6 separate regions of the Homo sapiens genome follow, and all the other regions are linked to region 2. The links are contacts of gene promoters, found by promoter capture Hi-C in blood cells and fetal thymus (Javierre and others, 2016). All regions are on one chromosome and are shown on one strand. The core of a region is centred on a gene start or on the middle of the fragment in contact, and the rest is flanking DNA. Distances in the headings are between cores, read along the strand shown. Region 1 overlaps MACC1-OT1 (MACC1 3' UTR overlapping transcript 1). Region 2 holds the start of MACC1 (MET transcriptional regulator MACC1). Region 3 overlaps MACC1-OT1 (MACC1 3' UTR overlapping transcript 1). Region 4 overlaps ITGB8 (integrin subunit beta 8). Region 5 has its middle 90 kb from the start of ITGB8-AS1. Region 6 has its middle 120 kb from the start of ITGB8-AS1.

Region 1 (2,791 bases), core at 154-2,653, 240 kb before region 2:
TTGAGTAATAAACAATCCAACTACTGTATTTAAGTTATTTTGAAGTGTACAATAATTATTGACTATCGTTACCCCATTGTGCTATCAAATAGTAGGTATTATTCCATTGTTTCTAACTATATTTTGTATTGTATCCATTAACCATCCCCACTTCCCTACTATTAATAACTCCTAATTACCCTTCTCAGCCCCTGGTAACCGTTCTACTCTGTATGTTCATGAGTTCAACTGTTTTGGTTTTTAGCTCCCATAAATGAATGATAAAATGAAGTGTTTTTCTTTCTGTACATGGCTTGTTTCACTTAACATAATGATCCACAGTTCCATCTATGCTGTTGCAAATGACTAGGTCTCATTCATTTTTATGACTGAATGGTACTCCATTGTATATATGTACCACATTTTCTTTATCCATTTATCTTTTTATGGAAACTTAGGTTACTTCCTCTTATTAGCTATTGCAAACAGTGCTGCAACAAACATAGGAGTGCAGATATCTCTTCAATATACTGATTTCTTTTCTTTTGGGTATATACCCAGCAGTGAGATTGCTGGATTATATGGTAGCTCAATTTTTAGTTTCTTGAGGAAGCTCTAAACTGTTCTCCATAATGGTTGTACTAATGTACCTTCCCACCAACAGTGTACAATAGTTCCCTTTTCTCCACATCCTTGCCAGCCTTTGTTACTGCCTGTTTTTTGGATATAATCTATTTTAACTAGGGTGAGATGATAGCTCATTATAGTTTTGATTTGCATATCTCTGATGATCCGTGGTGCTGAATACCTTTTCATATGTTTCTTTGCCATTTGTATGTCTTCTTTTGAGAAATGTCTATTCAAATATTTTGCCCATTTTTTGATCCAATTATTAGATTTTTTCCTACAGAGTTTTTCGAGCTTCTTATATATTCTGGTTATTAATCTTTTGTCAGATGGGTAGTTTGCAAATATTTTCTCCCATTCTATGGGTTGTCTCTTCATTTTGTTGATTGTACCTTTTGCTGTGCAGAATCTTTTTAGCTTGATGTGATTCTATTTGCCCATTTTTTGTTTTGGTTGCCTGCACTTTTTGGGTATTGCTCAATAAATTTTTGCCCAGACTAATGTCCTGGAGATTTTTCCCAATATTTTCTTGTAGCAGTTTTATAGATTGAAATCTTAGATTTAAGTCTTTAATTCACTTTAATTTGATTTTTGTATATGGTGAGAGATAGGATTCTAGTTTCATACTTCTGCATATGGATGTCCAGTTTTCCCAGAAAAATTTATTGAAGAGACTGTCTTTTTCCCAGTGTATGTTCTTGGCACCTCTGTCAAAAATGAGTTCACTGTAGGCAGTGTGGATTTATTTCTGGGGTCTCTATTCTGTTCCATTGGTGTATGTGTCTGCTTTTATGCTTGTACCATGCCCTTTTGGTTACTATAGCTCTGTACTATAATTTGAAGTCAGCTAATATAGTTCCTCCAGTTTTGTTCTTTTTGCTTAGGATGGCTTTGGCTCTTCTGGGCCTTTTTGTGTTTCCATATAAATTTTAGAATTGTTTTTAATATTTCTGTGAAGAATGTCATTAGTACTTTGATAGGGATTGCACTGAATCTGTGGATTGCTTTGGGTAATAAGGATATTTAACAATATTAATTCTTACAATCCATGAACATGGAATATTTTTTCAAATTTTGTTGGCTTCTTCAATTTCTTTCATCAGTGTTTTATATTTTTCATTATAGAGATCTTTTATTTCTTTAAGATAATTATTGTTTCATTTTTTGCATGGCTATTATAAATGGGATTATATTTGTATTTCTTTTTCAGATTGTTCATTGTTGTCATATTGAAATGCTAATGATTTTTATGTTAATTTTGTGTATGCACATTTACTGAATCTATTCATCACTTTTTTTGTTTTTTGGTTTGTTTTGAGATGGAATCTCACTCTGTCACCCAGGCTGGAGTGCAGTGGCATGATCTTGGCTCACTGCAACCTCCACTTCCTGAGTTCAAGCAATTCTCCTGCCTCAGCCTCCCGAGTAGCTGGGATTACAGGCAAAAGCCACCATGCCTGGCTACTTTTTGTATTTTAGTAGAGATCGGGTTTCACCACGTCAGCTAGGCTGGTCTCGAACTCCTGACGTCAGGTGATCCACCCACCTAGGCCTCCCAAAGTACTGGCGTTACAGACGTGAGCCACTGCACCTGGCCTGTTTATCAGTTTTAAAAGGTTTCCTGTGGAGTCTTTAGGATTTTCCAAATATAAGATCATATCATCTGCAAATAAGGGTCATTTGACTTCTTCCTTTCCATTTTGGATGCCTTTTATATCTTTCTCTTGTCTGATTGCTCTAGCTAGGACCTCAAGTACTATGTTGAATAATAGTGGTGACAGTAGGCATCCTTATCATGTTCCTTATCTTCGAAAAAAGGCTTTCAGTTTTTTCCCATTCAGTATGATACTATCTGTGGGTCTGTCATATATGGCTTTTATTATTTTGAGGTACGCTCCTTCTATAACAGTTTTTTAGGGTTTTTATCATGAAGGGATGTTGTATTTTATCAAATGTTTTTTCAGCATCAATTGAAATAATCATATTGTTTTTATCCTTCATTCTGTTGATATGATGTATACATTGATTGATTGGTGTAGGTTGTTTCTCCTTGCTTCCCAGGGATAAATCCCACTTGGTCACAATAAATGATCTTTCTAATGCATTGTTGTATTTGGTTTGCTAGTATTTTGTTGAGGATTTTTGCATCAATGTTCATCAGAGACACCGGCCTGTAGTTTTCTTT
Region 2 (2,809 bases), core at 170-2,669:
CAAATTGTAACTAATAATTATGACTTCATAATTTCTAGATTCTGTACACTACCCATGAAATCATATTAAAAATCGCTATTATGAATAAAAGATAATCATGTAATTAAGTTCAGGGGGGCATAAAAGAATCACCACTGAGGTTAAGACAACTTTAAGAATATACCTGAAATTCATCATTATCACCCAGTAATTGCTATGTAAAAACCAGACATTAACATAGATAAGTCAATATCAATCCTAAATTAGACCCACTGAATATAGACTTAAGACATTTTTAGGAAATTAGGAAGACCTTTAATAAATGGAAGGCATTGGAATTTTCACTACATGCTTTTTGATCTTAAAAATAAATTTTTTAAAATCTATCTTTATTAATTGTGGTAAAAAACTTAACATACAATTTACCATCCTAACCATTTGTAAGTGTTTACACTTACAAATTTTAAGTTCAATAGTATTAAATATATTTACATTATTGTACAGTCTCCAAGTGTTTTCATCTTGTAAACTGAAACTCTATATCCATTAAACAACTCTCATTTCTCCTTCCCCCAAGCCCCTGGCAACTACCATTCTAAGTATCATTTATGTGAGTTTGACTACTCCAGATACCTCAGGTAAGTTGAATCATCCAGTATTTGTCTTTTTGTTTCTTTGGTGTGTTTTCCAAGCTTAATTGAAACTTAATTAGGATGAAGCCAAGTTACCCTCCATCATGTATCATCTGTCTATTCAGTACAATGCACTGTGCTAATTTAATGACCCCCTTAACTTAATTACATGATTATCTTTTATTCATAATTTAATGCTATTAACCTAATGAGGTAGGTTATGCACACACACTTTACAGATGAGGAAACTGAGACTTTGCGAGGTGAAACATCTTGTCAATGGTCATAAATCTAATAAGCAGTGGGGCTGCTGATTGCAACTTTATCTATCTTCAAAGCACAGTCTTTTTAACATACCTGTATGCTTTTTGAGATATTTAAAGTTTTTAGGGGATTTCAGCCATCTACATATTTTAAGCAACTCATAGAGTGTTTTGTTTTTGCCTTTGATGGTTAATGTGACCTGGGTTCCTCCTTTTTTTTAAAATAAACTACTTTATTCTAAACCATGTCTCAAGGTATTATTCTATTCTATGTCATGAGGTTTATTCTAACACATGTCCCATAAGCCCACAGAATACCAGTTACCTTCCCTTTATTTAAGCAGGGCTTGATTTGTTAAGCAGCTGGTTTGTTACATTTTTCTGGAAATTATACAACTTCCTAGTGTGTAGCACATATCAATAGTGAAAGGAATATTATTTTTAAAAAATCAGCACTTACATTTGTGGAAGTGAGCCCAAGCTTCTTCAGTTCAGACACATGGTTTTAGTGAATAGAAGTCACTCTACCAAACCCGGGTACTCTTCAAACATGCCTTGCTCCGTATGCAGGCAGGCAACTGCACCCCTGCTTCCTGAGCCACCTGGGACTTGAAGTTCTACCACTGTGGCTCCAAAGCTGCCCAACTAGAAACCCCAAAAGGCAAGAGAACTACGATACCCACAATTCAGGCTCCTCACCCGAAACCAGAAGAGGGCGTATGGCTAGAGTTTCACCCTAAGAAGAAAGGGGAAGCAGGTGGAAAAGCAATTAAAAAAAAATCAGGTGAGTATATCTAAGAACCATCTGTAAATATAATCTTATTTCCATGAAAGGAAATAAAAGTGGTTTAATGTTTGCCAGGGAGTAAGAAGGCACCCTCAGTGTTAGCAATAAGTAAAAAATATTTATGCAAGCAAATCCTCATGCAGCTGGAACTTGCCCCACCAGATTCTCTTTCGGTGATTCAGAGCTGAAGGTGCCTCACTGCCCTGTGGAACAGGTGAATAAAGCCTTCCCAGGTGAGTGACAGTGTCTAACTAGTTCCCCCTTTCCCTCTACATCAGCACTGTGATTGTCACTCAAAGACATAGACATATAGACATAATGGAGACCTTTTGGCATTTCATCTTCTAAAATGCTCTGGATTTTTAAGATAACACTTTAAAATGTGCCTTTTAAAATATAAGCAAGAATAAAGTTTTCTTGATATTTTCTTCCATTTTACTTTCCATTTCTGTGTTTTGTGTTTTCCTTCTGTGTATTTTGTTCAAAATTCAAGAAAGAGAAAATTAGGGGAAAGGGGAAAAAAGGTAAAACTTAGTGAAATGAAATGTGCAATAATTGTTTCACATTTTTTTCCAACATCAGCAACAGAGAATGTTTAAAACAAATGTGTTTCTCTATTTGTTCATACAGCATCTCTCTCTAGCCTATTATCTCCTGTTAGACACAGCCCAGAAAATGAATAGAGACAAGTCCTGGCTGGGTCTGGGTTCAGAAACATAATAGAAGGATTCATCTAATGTAAGTAGATGGCAGAATGGTGACAAAGAAAAAGTTTCCTTTCCCTTTTCTGCACTTTCTCTCCTACTGTTCTAACCACCCCTTCCTCCCTGATGCATCCCTGGCTTCATGCTGCCAGATCACCTAATCCACCCAGATTCCCTTTGAAGTTTCCCCTTGACTCATCCCACAATCCAAACTGAGCTGTTCTGTTTCTTTTTGTCACAGGTTCCTCAACTCTCTACTAGAACCTAGCTTTCCTTTATGTCATTATATTATTTCCAAAACAAATGGTTCTTAATTTCCCCAAACCCTACAGAGGGCATTCTGCATGGCATTTCTCCTCCCTGAAACCATTTTTGCTCATCTTGAAATGTTCAGAGATTTCATTTTTTCCAAAGCTCAATGAAAAACACTCTTCAAGATGTCCT
Region 3 (2,815 bases), core at 105-2,604, 200 kb before region 2:
TCATCACAATCCACAAAATGCAAACAAAACAATACATTTAGTATCTAGCAGTCATCTTCAAGGAATTGCATGTGCATGGCATCATTTAAACATTTTTTAAAAAAACAAAGAAAATTAAACAAAAATACACAGAAAATTTTTAAAAAGTTAGTTATTCTGCCTTAAATTCTACAAAAAAGACAAGAAAGATGATTGAAAAACATAAATGCACAAGGATAAAGCCAACGTGAGAAGACAGTACTACAACAGAGTTTGGGAAACTAGAAAGCAGGTGTATCAATTTACTATGGCTACTTTAAACAATACCTCAAATTTGGTGACTTAAAACAGCGCACATTTATTTTCTTACAGTTCTGGATATCAGAAGCTCAAAGGGTTTCAATAGATTAAACCAAAGTGCTAGCAGGGGTACACTTCCTCAGGAAGCTCTATGATGGAATCTCTTTCCCTGCCTTTTCCAAATTCTAGAGCTGCATTCCTTGCATTTCTTGGCTCATCACCCCTTCCTCCACCTTCAAAGCTAGCAGCAAAGTATCTTCAATTCTCTGTTTCCATCATCATATCACCTTCTTCCTCTTTTGTGGTCAAATCTCTGTCCACCCTCCTCTCATGATTATATTTAGGAAACACCTGGAAAATCCCCCTCTCTGAAGATACTTAACTGAATTACATATGCAAGGCCCCCTTTTGCCATGTAAAGTAACTCTCTCAGGTTCCATGAAATAGATCTTAGATATCTTTGGGGCACATTATTCAAGCTATCACTGAGGTAAGAAGCTTAGTACCTCAAAGCTGAAAACTACACTATCAGTAAGGAAAGCAACTGACATTTTTTTCACAGAAAAATGCTAACTGAGGCTTAGTCATTGAAGGCAGCAGCCAGGTACCTCTGCAACAGAGGGTAATGGGTGGTGTGAAAATTAAGAGAATCGATTAGCTATAGAAGAAGGTACAAGATTCCACAGATTACTTTCCCAACCCTTTTCTGTCAGGTCACTGCCTCTCTCCCCATGTCATGGAATCAGGGACACTGCACATTGCTAACGGAAAGGGTACCACATGGAAAAAAAGGATATTCATTAACCAATCATTGAAGCCCAGTCACCTTTCCCCAGCTGGATCTAAAAATGCTACATAAGATGTATCAGCCTATCAATAGTTGGCTAATAAATGAGTATTCTTTGCTTGCGGAAATGTACCAGGAGAATAGGAGAACAGCAGACACTGGGAAAGGCAGATCTCCTGATAAAACCAAATTAAGCATCATAGAGTAAATCCCACCAGTAGACAGGGCCCACACAGCCACACATACCTTGAAATCAGATTTTTATTGTCTCTGTCTTAAATCTGAATGGAAAGTCTCATATAGCCAGACATAGAAGAAAGCCTTCATTTAGAGGACTGAAGCAAGCCTCTAACATAAAGGGTGAAGACTTAAGTAAACAAAGGGTGGCAGGGGGAGAAACTCATCAAAGAAGCAAAAGAATTTTTAAATTTTCTCATAAAAAATGTTGGAACTTCAGAGAGCTGAGAGTTATTGTACTCATAAAATGAGAACATGGGGTAATTTGTTTTAATGTCATGAATAGAACCCAAAAATCTTGGGAAATACAATTATTATCATGGTAAAATAAAGTTCAATAAGAAAAGTAAAAAACAAGTTGAAAAAATCTCTCACAAAGAAAAAAATAGAAAACATTAGAATATTATTCTAGGACTTAAAACACTGAACACTTAGAATTACAGAAAGAAAGAAGAGAGAAGATGGAGAAGAAAAAAATAAAGAAAATGTTTAAAAATGTTTCAGGCTGAAAGATTTGAAGTTTCACATTGAGAGGGATCATCAAGAGTTCAATACAATGGTTACACAAGACCCATGGAAAACTACCTCACTGAGAAATTTCAGAACACTGATTACAAAGTGAAGTCCTAGAAGCTTCTGAAGAGAAGTCAGAAGAGTCCACATTCAGAAATCAAAATTACATCAGACCCTCAATAGAAATGTTAGAAGCTAGACAATAATGGTGTGATATCTTCAAAATTCTGAGAGAAAGTGATTTCCAACTAAGACTTGTATACCCAGCCAAACTATTTTTTTAATCAGACACAGCAGTTCAAATGAAGGCATGCAACTTTTCAATAATTTTACCACTCACACAGTCTCTCTCAGGAAGCTAGAGGAGGATATAATTGACTAAAATAAGGTGATTCACTAAGGAAGAGCAAAACAGGTGACCCAAGCAAGAAAGGATCCATTAAAAATATTTCAAAATAAAGACATGATATGAATTCCAAAAAATATGGCAATAAAATCCTAGAACAAGTTTTTTTCTCAACTGAGGGTAATTTTGTCCCCCAGGGGATATATGACAATGTATAGAAACAGTTTTGTTATCACAAGTACAGGAGTGGAGGAGAGTGCTACTGTCAGCTAGTGGATTGGTGGATAGAGGCCAGGGATGCTGCCAAACATCCTACAACGTGCAGGACAATCTCCTGCAATAAATAATAATGCAGCTCAAAATGTCAATAGTGCCAAGGAAGTTGAGAAACCCAGTCCTAGTAAACAGTAGCTGTGCAACAGACTGAAACAGGAACCAGGGCAACTTAAGGGTAAAAGACTTAGAATTAATTTTGTGGTCAGTTTAGAACCACTGACTTATTAGAGCTAAGCCTCAGAAAGTAGCTTTCAACAAATACAAAAAATTATGACATAATGTGAGCAATGCAGTTAAAGAGCCAGGCAGAAAGAACTTGGGGACACAACTAAGCTACATTCCTTGGTCCTGATCACTTCATTACTAATTTTTGGCCT
Region 4 (2,971 bases), core at 22-2,521, 180 kb after region 2:
ACTAAAGAAGTTTTGGGAAATGCTGCATTAAATAATGTTAAATCATTTCTAGATTGCAGGCCTACTCTGAAACTTTTAATTTGCAAATGTGCATTTTATGTTTCTAAGTGGAAGAAACCATATGCAGAACTTCCCAAGCTCATTTGCCCTCAAAACTTTTGTATGTTTAAAATCTCTTGGGCTTTACATTCCATGGAAGAAATTTGGGAGATGCTCATCTGCATTTCGATTGGATTTTTAGGTCATCAGGTACAGTGATTCCGGATGCACACACAGTCATGCACATGTACAGACACACACAACCACTACATGGGTATATGTTCTGGCTGCTCTACTAGGTTGCTTATATTTTTCTTGTGTCTTATAGGTTTTCATTCATTTAATGGTTCACCTTCAACTGATAACTACAAAAATATTTACTATTTGTTGGTTGCTAACCCATTACATACTATTGTCATTGTTTAAATGCTACTGATATGTTTTATAGGATCTTCTACCCCTCTTGCCAGGCACCATTGCTGGTGAAATAGAATCAAAGGCTGCAAACCTCAATAATTTGGTAGTGGAAGCCTATCAGGTATGTATATATTAGATACAATTTTTTAAATAAAATTTTTACCTCAATTTCTGTGACAAGGTACAAAGTAGTGCCATGTCATCTCGAGAGGAGGAGTAGAAAGCATATTAGATTAGGAATTAGGAATCTGAAGTTCATCCCTGGCCCTACCACTAACTAGCTTTTTGCTTTGGGAAAGTTATTTCTGCTTTCTGTGCCTCACTTTTCTCATTGACAGTCAACAGAGATTGGGCTAGAGGCTATCTAAATTTCCTTCTACATCCAGTGCTCAGTGAATCATCAAGTCATAGCTATAGAATGTACATTATTACCATGAAATTGCGTCATTTCCTATGCCGTAATGATAAAGTAGAAGTCCACAGTTACGTAAGGCAATAATCTGCCAGGGCAGTTAAACTATCTGGGATATAGCAATTATTAAGAGGAGTCGGTTGGGATCTCTATGATCAACCACTTGATTGTTCAACAATTATTTTAGCATTTTTATCAAAAGAGTTTGATTAAAAGAATCACCTTAGTAGATACTCTGTTTTCTTGAGTTGATGGTTGTATGCTGTCATCAGTCCTATGAAGAGTGAATGCCTCAATGCAAAGAATTTAAAGAAACATCTGTTCTTTCAACCTGCGTCATTCCTGAATAGAACCACCTCTGTTAAGATGTTGTGAAAATAGTGACTGCTACTTTTTTACCACTAAGATCCAGTCACTTTACATACATGACCTCATTCAGTCCTCACACCTGACCTATAAAGCAGGTGGTTAGTACCCACATTGTATATTAGTAGAAACCAAGACTCAGGAAAGTGAAACAAACTTATCAAAGGTTGTTCAACTAATAAGCAGAAGAAAGTGGGATCAGAATCCAGGTGTTCCTTTACTTCAAGCCTCAGGTGCTTCCTCCTCTGCGATACCACCTGTTTTTCATTGTTTTACAGTGTGTCAAAAGATATGCTTTATGCTACCTTGAATTTATGGGCCAACTATAGAGTCTCTTTCCCAAATTCTCTGACTCCCTTCCTAACACGCAGAGTTTAATAGTTAAATTATAGCCAAAGCATTGTGGAAAAACCTCTCGTTTCTCTTCTCGTTTTCTCCAGACAGCACCTTCCTTTAGCTTGGGCACAAAAGAGAAAGGCAGGAAGTAGACACAATATATGAAATGAAGAACTTAGGCCGGGCGCGGTGGTTCATGCCTGTAATCCCAGCACTTTGGGAGGCCGAGGCAGGTGGATCACGAGGTCAGGAGATTGACACCATCCTGGCTAACACGGTGAAACCCTGTCTCTACTAAAAAAAAATTAGCAGGGCATGGTGGCGGGTGCCTGTAGTCCCAGCTACTCGGGAGGCTGAGGCAGGAGAATGGCTTGAACCCAGGAGGCGGAGCTTGCAATGAGCCGAGATTGCGCCACTGCACTCCAGCCTGGGCGACAGAGCAAGACTCCATCTCAAAAAAAAAAAAAAATTAAGAACTTGTTTAAACTTTCATCTTCTAAAAGGAAAATAAATCTTGCTTGATTTGTTTTCACTGAGGATAGTTTTCTATGTCTGAAAAGTACGTTGAGTAAAATAAGGAAGAGCGTCTTAAATTACATCTTTCTCACTGTTACAAAAAAGAACAGTGAGACTGAAGAGGGACTTATCACAGAAAATCAAATGTGTCTACAATTCATTCCCATCAGTAGTCTGTTCCCAAGAATAATCAAAATAAGACAAGAGCTTATGCTGTAAGAAACCACTCTAAATTCTTTAGTATGAACCCATTTATTACTCCAAAAAAAGTATATAAATTTACAGATTTTTACCTGTGTGTCAGACTGCCCCAGTGGCAAAGGAGACAGCAACATTTGGTTATTTTGCCTAGCATAGGTATGCAATGCCTTAGTCCAGTGTAGTTCTCATCAACCGTAAACAGTGGAAAAATAATATTAAATCCAACAAAAACTTACTGGGGCTAACTACTCTCCTTAAGTTGGAATTCTGTTATTATTTTATATATGTTTATATTATCAAAAATCTTCTAAACTTTCATTTTGTCTTCACAGTCCAACAGAATCAATTCACAATCCATTGAAGAATTATATAGAATCTGCCTCTGTACCTATTAGATACTAAAAGGGAAGCTCAAGATTATGTCTGGGGTTGGATTTCTGAATCCCCAAACTGGGCAAAATTTTAAGGATTTGTCTTCACATCAGGCTTGAAAAACATTGGCCTAACTAGCTAAGATCTTTTCCTTTTCTTTCTTTTTTTTTTTTTTTAGATGGAATTTTACTCTGTCTTGCCCAGGCTGGAGTGCAGTGGCGAGATCTTGACTCACTGCAACCTCCACCTCCCAGGTTCAAGTGATTGTCCTGCCTCAAGCTCCAGAGTAGCTGGGATTACAGGCGTATCACG
Region 5 (2,775 bases), core at 149-2,648, 200 kb after region 2:
TTATCAAAATAAACCTAATTGAAAGATAATATCACTTTCGATGTAATTATTTATATATGAACTTTTTCATCATAATTAGAAGCAGTTGTGGTCTGTACAAGAAAAACAAGTGATATCTTGTCTTTCAACGTGGTAATCCTTTAGCACTGATGTGGGCTGGTGCATTATTTCATACTCAGGGCCTAGTCACTCAGACTAGACTGGTGAGAGGGAAACTCCTGCTTTATTGGGCTTTGGCATGCTCTTGCTGTTTTACTTTGTCATGATTACGAAATTCATTCTACCATCATTAAAGTCAAGAGAGATAATTATTCACTTAAAAAATCTTAATTTACCATTAACATTTTTCCCATTAAATACAAGATAATCTATAAATTCACAGTTTCAAAGGGTAGTTCCCAGTCCAAGAGCATCACCATCACCTAGAAGTTTGTAGAAACGCAGATTTTTTGGTCTCCATCAAGACCTTCTGAATCAGAAACTCTGGGACTGTGGCCCAGCGATGTTCTTCCCCCCTCCCAACCCGGAAGCTTATTAGAAACCAGCAGTGTGTTTTAACATGCTCTTTAAGTGACCCTAATGCCCACTGATGCCTGAGAACCACTTGCAAAGAGTGAAAACTAACATCAGATGACCAAAAAGGTACAGATTATGCTGACCCCAGACAAAACTTTATCTGATCTTGAGGGGAAGAAAATGTTCTAGGAAACATAGCAAGACTGTCTCTTACAAAAAAAAAAAAAAAAATTCTTTTAATTAGCCAGGCCTAGTGTCAAATGCCTGTAATCCCAGCCACTTGGTAGGCTAAGGCAGGAGGATCACTTGAGCCTAGGGGATCAAAGCTTCGGTGGGCTATGATCACTCTGCTGTACTTCAGCCTGACTGACACAGTGAGATTCTGTCTCAGGAAAAAAAAAAAAAAAAAATATATATATATATATATATATATATATAAATATATACATTTATACACACATATATATATATTTCTACAAGCACGCATCCAAATTGTCTCTATTTCACTAATTTTGCTCTTATTCTGGTAGTAAGTCTGCTTTAATGAGGGCTTGGAAAAGGGAAAATGACCCTCTGAGTGCCAATGACTAGCAAAAGGGAAACAAAACATAGAGACATACGTGTAAGGGTCAGTCGGACCCAAAGAATAAGTGAAACATCAGGGGAAAAAAATATATGTGTCTCATTATTGGAAAAATAAAGCCAGGACAAAAGATGAGAGATCATCAGTCAATAATTGTGGGGAGGAGTCAGAGGGGACTTGGATTAATGGAAAGTCTAAATCTAGAAAGTTTAATTTTGTCTAACATAATTTTCCATGATACTCCAACTAGACGATAAGTATCTAGGCACCTATTACGTTAGGCTTCTGTGAGCTATGATGTCTGTATCTGTTCCATTTTTCTAGTAACATACTAAATGGAAATAGGCCAAAGCATAATTTAGGATATAAATTGTTTTGATGAAGGGTTCCATCTTCTCTTACAAATGTTTACTATTTTACCTACAGAGAGTAACTAGCTCTCATTTCAGACAGCAGTCCAGGTGGGCCTACTAGTAAGAGGGTGCTATAAAGTTAGCTCCAGGACCTCACCTCAAAGAATGTGACTGAGAAAAGATTTACAGACTATGATCACAGTGCTCTTCTAAGAACTGTTCATTAAATAAGCCACAGATATTAAGCAGTAGGTGTTTTCTGTTCTTCCTGAAGATTATTAGGTTTTACCAGGGATAATAGAATAATACTCGCTGGAAATTAAAATTCCTCCTTTGTTTATTTATTTCAATACCATATTCATTTGTTAACTTGCTTGGTCTCTGTTTAGAATATTAGTTAGCAAGGAATAAATATTTTGTTTACAGTTTCCCAAAACGTTTTCTTTTTTCAAGAAAACACAATTTCTTATGTATTTTTGGTGGGGCATTTAACAGGCCTGAGAAAGCTTACCAGGGTAGAAATTTGTCATGAAAATTTACTTTTAATCCCTGCCAGATCCAGTGATCAGGTGGGCACCAAGGGCATGGGATGCTAGAATGGGCCTCCACCTACATCACTTTCAACTGGGGCACCTACTAATTGTTATGCTAAGATATCAAGGTGAGGTGTGCCCTCCCTCCCACAGTTTCAGATTTTCAAAGGAAATGGTACTGAGAACCTGCTATAGAATTCTGGACCCCTCAAGCCATGGAGGATATAAAGAGGGAAGAGATAGGAGGAGAGGAAGATCGTTTAAACATTTTTTGAGACCTCTCTGCTGTGAGCCTCCACTCCACTTCTCTTTGGGGACAGTCTGAAGATGTTCCACCTAACCTTCTGCTTGGTGGGGCTTCAAGGGAACCATGAGGAGCTTTGAAACGTGTTCCTTACTTTTAAGAGACAGAGAAGTCTGATGCTTGGCTTGTGCCAGAAAGTCTTCATCGTAGATTATTGCTAATAACACATAAGACTGTGGCCTGGGTCCTATCTCCTCCCAGGAAAACTAAAGGGAATAAATGTCTAGTACTAGTTTTGGTATGTCCATTCTAACTCTAATTAAGTGTCTATTCTCACTCCACAGGTTAGAGTTTAATTTGAAACAGAATATATAAGTACCATTTTCTTTCCTTTCAAATAGCAAATCAATAATATCAGACTCTTTTCAGGAATGATTTTGGATATAACTAACAACTCCCTCTCCCCCGACCAAAGAATCTGAAAAGAACCAAAAATGTCTATAAAATATTTTCAATTAAGCTGTTTAACATGTTTTCTTAAAGTAA
Region 6 (3,091 bases), core at 236-2,735, 230 kb after region 2:
ACATCAGATGTTCTGCTTTAAATGTAACATGGAGAAGTATTTGTGACAGATGGTCCTAAACATTTGTCTTCCTTAGATCATCTGGTTTAACTACTCACTTCATAATTTTCAATTGCTCATTTCTTTTTTTCTGAAGAAAATTAGTGTATAACACTGAACTAGAAAAAAAATGGACACTAGTTTTTATGTAGTTTTGGTAGTATTATTTTCTAGTATCTTACAACTAGTTGGCCATCCATAGAACAAATGTGAATGCATATGTCAAATGTAAAACAAATGGTGCTCATATCCCATACATGCCTCACCTTAAAAGCATGCCATGGAGTGCAGAGTGTGATGGGTGGAGTGAGATGGTGGCATGAGAAAAGCCAGCATTCTCACAAAAGCAAGAGAAGTTAATTCCTTGGAGGAGACAGAAGAAGGAGGAGGAATTAAAGAAGAATTCATGAACACCTATTTCACAGCAAAACTATTCAACTAGCCAAGAAGTGGAAACAACCCAAGCATCCATCAACAGCTGAATGGATGAACAAAGGGTGGAAAACACACACAATGGAATATTATTCTACTGTAAAAAGGAAGGACATTCTGCCACATGCTACAACATGGATGCACCTGGAAAACATATGCTAAGTGAAATAAACCATCATAAGACCCCAAACCCTGTGTGATTCCACTTATATATCTAGAGTAGATAAATTCATAAAAATAGAAAGTGGAATGATGATTGGCAGGGAATGTTGGGAGGGGTAATTGGAGATCTGTTTAATGAGTTTCCATTTTGAAAGACAAAAATGTTTTGGAGATTAGTTGCACAGTAGTGTGAATATACTTAGCACTACTGAACTATATACACTTCAAAATGCTTAAGATGGCAAATTTTTATGTTATGCGGGCTTTTTGCCACAATCTATTAAAAAGAGGTCTTTGGAGAGAAAGATCATTTGAACAAAACAATAATATGAATGATTACAAAAAATTGGCAGGGGTTGGCAGGGGTGGAGGGACAAGCCTTAAACCAAAAGAATACATTGGGCAGGGATAGAATTGGGAAGATGTAAAATAGTCACAGATCAGCAACTCTCTCAGGGCAGGTCATCACTTCATCAAGTAATAGGCCAAACGATGAGGCTGGAAATGTAGATTTGAGCCTATGTTGGACATATGTTTGTCTGCACAATACCACCTCCCCAGCTTTGAATGACCTGTCCCCCTCCCTTTCCATTCAATCTTCCTCAATCCATATGATTTGGATAGAATTAATCCCAGGCTTAAATAATCAAAGTACTCCCTTCTGCAAACATATACACACATAGGAAGAGGTCATGTAGGTTCTGCTCCAGAATTTTGTTGGCACTGTCAGAAAAGAGACTCTCTTTTCCCTTGAGATTTAAGATTCAAGTACCATGTAGACCTGGAGATGCCCCTGGACATTTTTTCCTATATAGAGAAAGCCTACTGAAAATACAGAGGAAATCAAAGGTGAAAAACAAGAAAAAATAGATAAAAGGGAAGAAAAGAAAGAAAGAAAGAGGGAAAGAAAGGAGAGAAAAGCAAAGGAAAAGGAAAAGAAACAGAGAGAAAGCAAGCAAAGAGAGAGGAAGAAAGAGATCGAGAGAAAGGGAGAGAGAAAAGGGGAAGAAATGGGAAAGGTAGGAGAGGCAAGGAGGAAGAAAAGAAGGAAACAGTACTGATTAATATTGTTTGAACATCTGAATCCAACTATGCCTAGAATCAGATCAACCCTATACTGTTCTGTTTTGCTAACCACCCTCCCCCTCCAAAAAAAAATTCCCTAGTTTGGCTTAAGCTGGCATAAGACGAGTTTTTGTCATTTGAAATCACACGAGTTCTGACTAATACAGGGCTAGATTGTGGGGATCCTAGAGAAAGGAAACAGGAAAATATGATATCAGTACTCACTTTGTCAGACACTGCACTAAGTCCCTCGGATATCACAATGAACAAAACAACTTTTTTCCCTGCCTTCATGAAACTAACAGTTTCTTAAGCCCCAGTCACATGAGTTTCATCCCTAGTTATAAGCATCTCTTTGTGGTTTTTGTTTGTTTAATGTTGAAGTCCTACTGCCAATAGTAAATCAGAGCTAGATTTGGTCTATAACAGCATATCCAAAATTTCCTGATGAAAAGAATCACCTGGGTTACTTGCTTTAAAAAGCTCAGGCCATCCCCAGCCCACATAATTAGGAGCTTTAGGGATGTGAGCTGAGAGTTTTGTTTTGTTTTGTTTTGTTTTTTTGAGATGGAGTCTCGCTCTGTCACCTAGGCTGGAGTGCAGTGGCGCGATCTCCGCTCACTGCAAGCTCCACCTCCCGGGTTCACGCCATTCTCCTGCCTCAGCCTCCTGAGTAGCTGGACTGCAGGCGCCCGCCACCTTACCCGGCTAATTATTTGTATTTTTAGTAGAGATGTGGTTTCACCGTGTTAGCCAGGATGGTCTCAATCTCCTGACCTCGTGATCCGCCCGCCTCGGCCTCCCAAAGTGCTGGGATTACAGGTACGAGCCACCGTGCCCGGTGGGAGCTGAGAGTATTTTTAAAAGTTTGAGGCCCAGGTGATTCTTATCATCAGAGAAGTATGTGAAATGCTAATCTTGTTATTCAATATACTTTCCATGGAAGAGTGGCAATGGATTTGTTAATAATGTGGCATTTCAGATCCCTCTCCAGACCTGCTGAATCAGGATAAACCTGTAATATTTTGATACAGATAGCTTGTGTTGTCTGAGATTTTTTTCCAAAAATCAGGGGCAGGGAGAAAGAAATCTGACACAGAACCTCATTCAGAAGTGCTTTCCAACAAAATCCATTTATTTCAAACTCAAGATGGCATTAACTAAAAATTAGATATCACCTGCACTGCTTTAAGCCCATTGCCAGTGATGTCACTCTCTGTGAACTGTATCTAAGGTCTAAATAGCGCATCATACAACTCTAGGAGAGAACATTGATGCTGTGTGCATGTGGATGGCACCCTCAGGAGTTGGATACTATAGCAGTCCTGAATCCAGGCCCAACTAGAGATTCATTTGGAGTCAAGCTCTGAAGACTCAACCTGGTGGCTGCTTT

What was found. The method cuts DNA at HindIII sites, captures the fragments that hold promoters and counts their contacts. A CHiCAGO score of 5 or more calls a contact.
Region 1: a fragment that was not itself captured here is called in contact with the fragment with the promoter of MACC1 in region 2 in 2 of 17 cell types (M2 macrophages and M1 macrophages); the score reaches 6.4 in M2 macrophages.
Region 3: a contact is called between a fragment that was not itself captured here and the fragment with the promoter of MACC1 in region 2, in 5 of 17 cell types (M0 macrophages, M1 macrophages, monocytes and 2 more). The highest score is 7.3, in M0 macrophages.
Region 4: a contact is called between a fragment that was not itself captured here and the fragment with the promoter of MACC1 in region 2, in 1 of 17 cell types (monocytes). The highest score is 5.3, in monocytes.
Region 5: a fragment that was not itself captured here is called in contact with the fragment with the promoter of MACC1 in region 2 in 1 of 17 cell types (monocytes); the score reaches 5.4 in monocytes.
Region 6: a contact is called between a fragment that was not itself captured here and the fragment with the promoter of MACC1 in region 2, in 3 of 17 cell types (M1 macrophages, M2 macrophages and monocytes). The highest score is 8.2, in M1 macrophages.

What each region holds. Positions count from the first base shown.
Region 1 is chr7:19,978,364-19,981,154 of GRCh38, forward strand. All of the region lies in intron 3 of MACC1-OT1 (MACC1 3' UTR overlapping transcript 1), which reads right to left. Among named protein-coding and RNA genes, the nearest start is that of MACC1-OT1, 160 kb to the right of the region's middle. The HindIII fragment of the contact is 6,365 bases long and covers 1-2,791 here.
Region 2 is chr7:20,215,965-20,218,773 of GRCh38, forward strand. It overlaps MACC1 (MET transcriptional regulator MACC1), which reads right to left and starts at 1,420. Exons shown (of 7, transcript NM_182762.4): 1 at 1,335-1,420. GIRGL (glutamine insufficiency regulator of glutaminase lncRNA) reads left to right here and starts at 1,613. Exons shown (of 4, transcript NR_134569.1): 1 at 1,613-1,658; 2 at 2,292-2,399. RefSeq lists an enhancer at 1,245-2,444. The HindIII fragment of the contact is 5,395 bases long and covers 1,354-2,809 here.
Region 3 is chr7:20,019,363-20,022,177 of GRCh38, forward strand. All of the region lies in intron 3 of MACC1-OT1 (MACC1 3' UTR overlapping transcript 1), which reads right to left. Among named protein-coding and RNA genes, the nearest start is that of MACC1-OT1, 120 kb to the right of the region's middle. RefSeq lists an enhancer at 572-661. The HindIII fragment of the contact is 1,159 bases long and covers 776-1,934 here.
Region 4 is chr7:20,394,409-20,397,379 of GRCh38, forward strand. It overlaps ITGB8 (integrin subunit beta 8), which reads left to right. Exons shown (of 14, transcript NM_002214.3): 8 at 488-577. Among named protein-coding and RNA genes, the nearest start is that of ITGB8-AS1, 64 kb to the left of the region's middle. RefSeq lists an enhancer at 569-1,768. The HindIII fragment of the contact is 5,095 bases long and covers 1-2,971 here.
Region 5 is chr7:20,419,949-20,422,723 of GRCh38, forward strand. No RefSeq gene overlaps it. Among named protein-coding and RNA genes, the nearest start is that of ITGB8-AS1, 90 kb to the left of the region's middle. The HindIII fragment of the contact is 1,116 bases long and covers 841-1,956 here.
Region 6 is chr7:20,447,455-20,450,545 of GRCh38, forward strand. No RefSeq gene overlaps it. Among named protein-coding and RNA genes, the nearest start is that of ITGB8-AS1, 120 kb to the left of the region's middle. The HindIII fragment of the contact is 5,138 bases long and covers 1-3,091 here.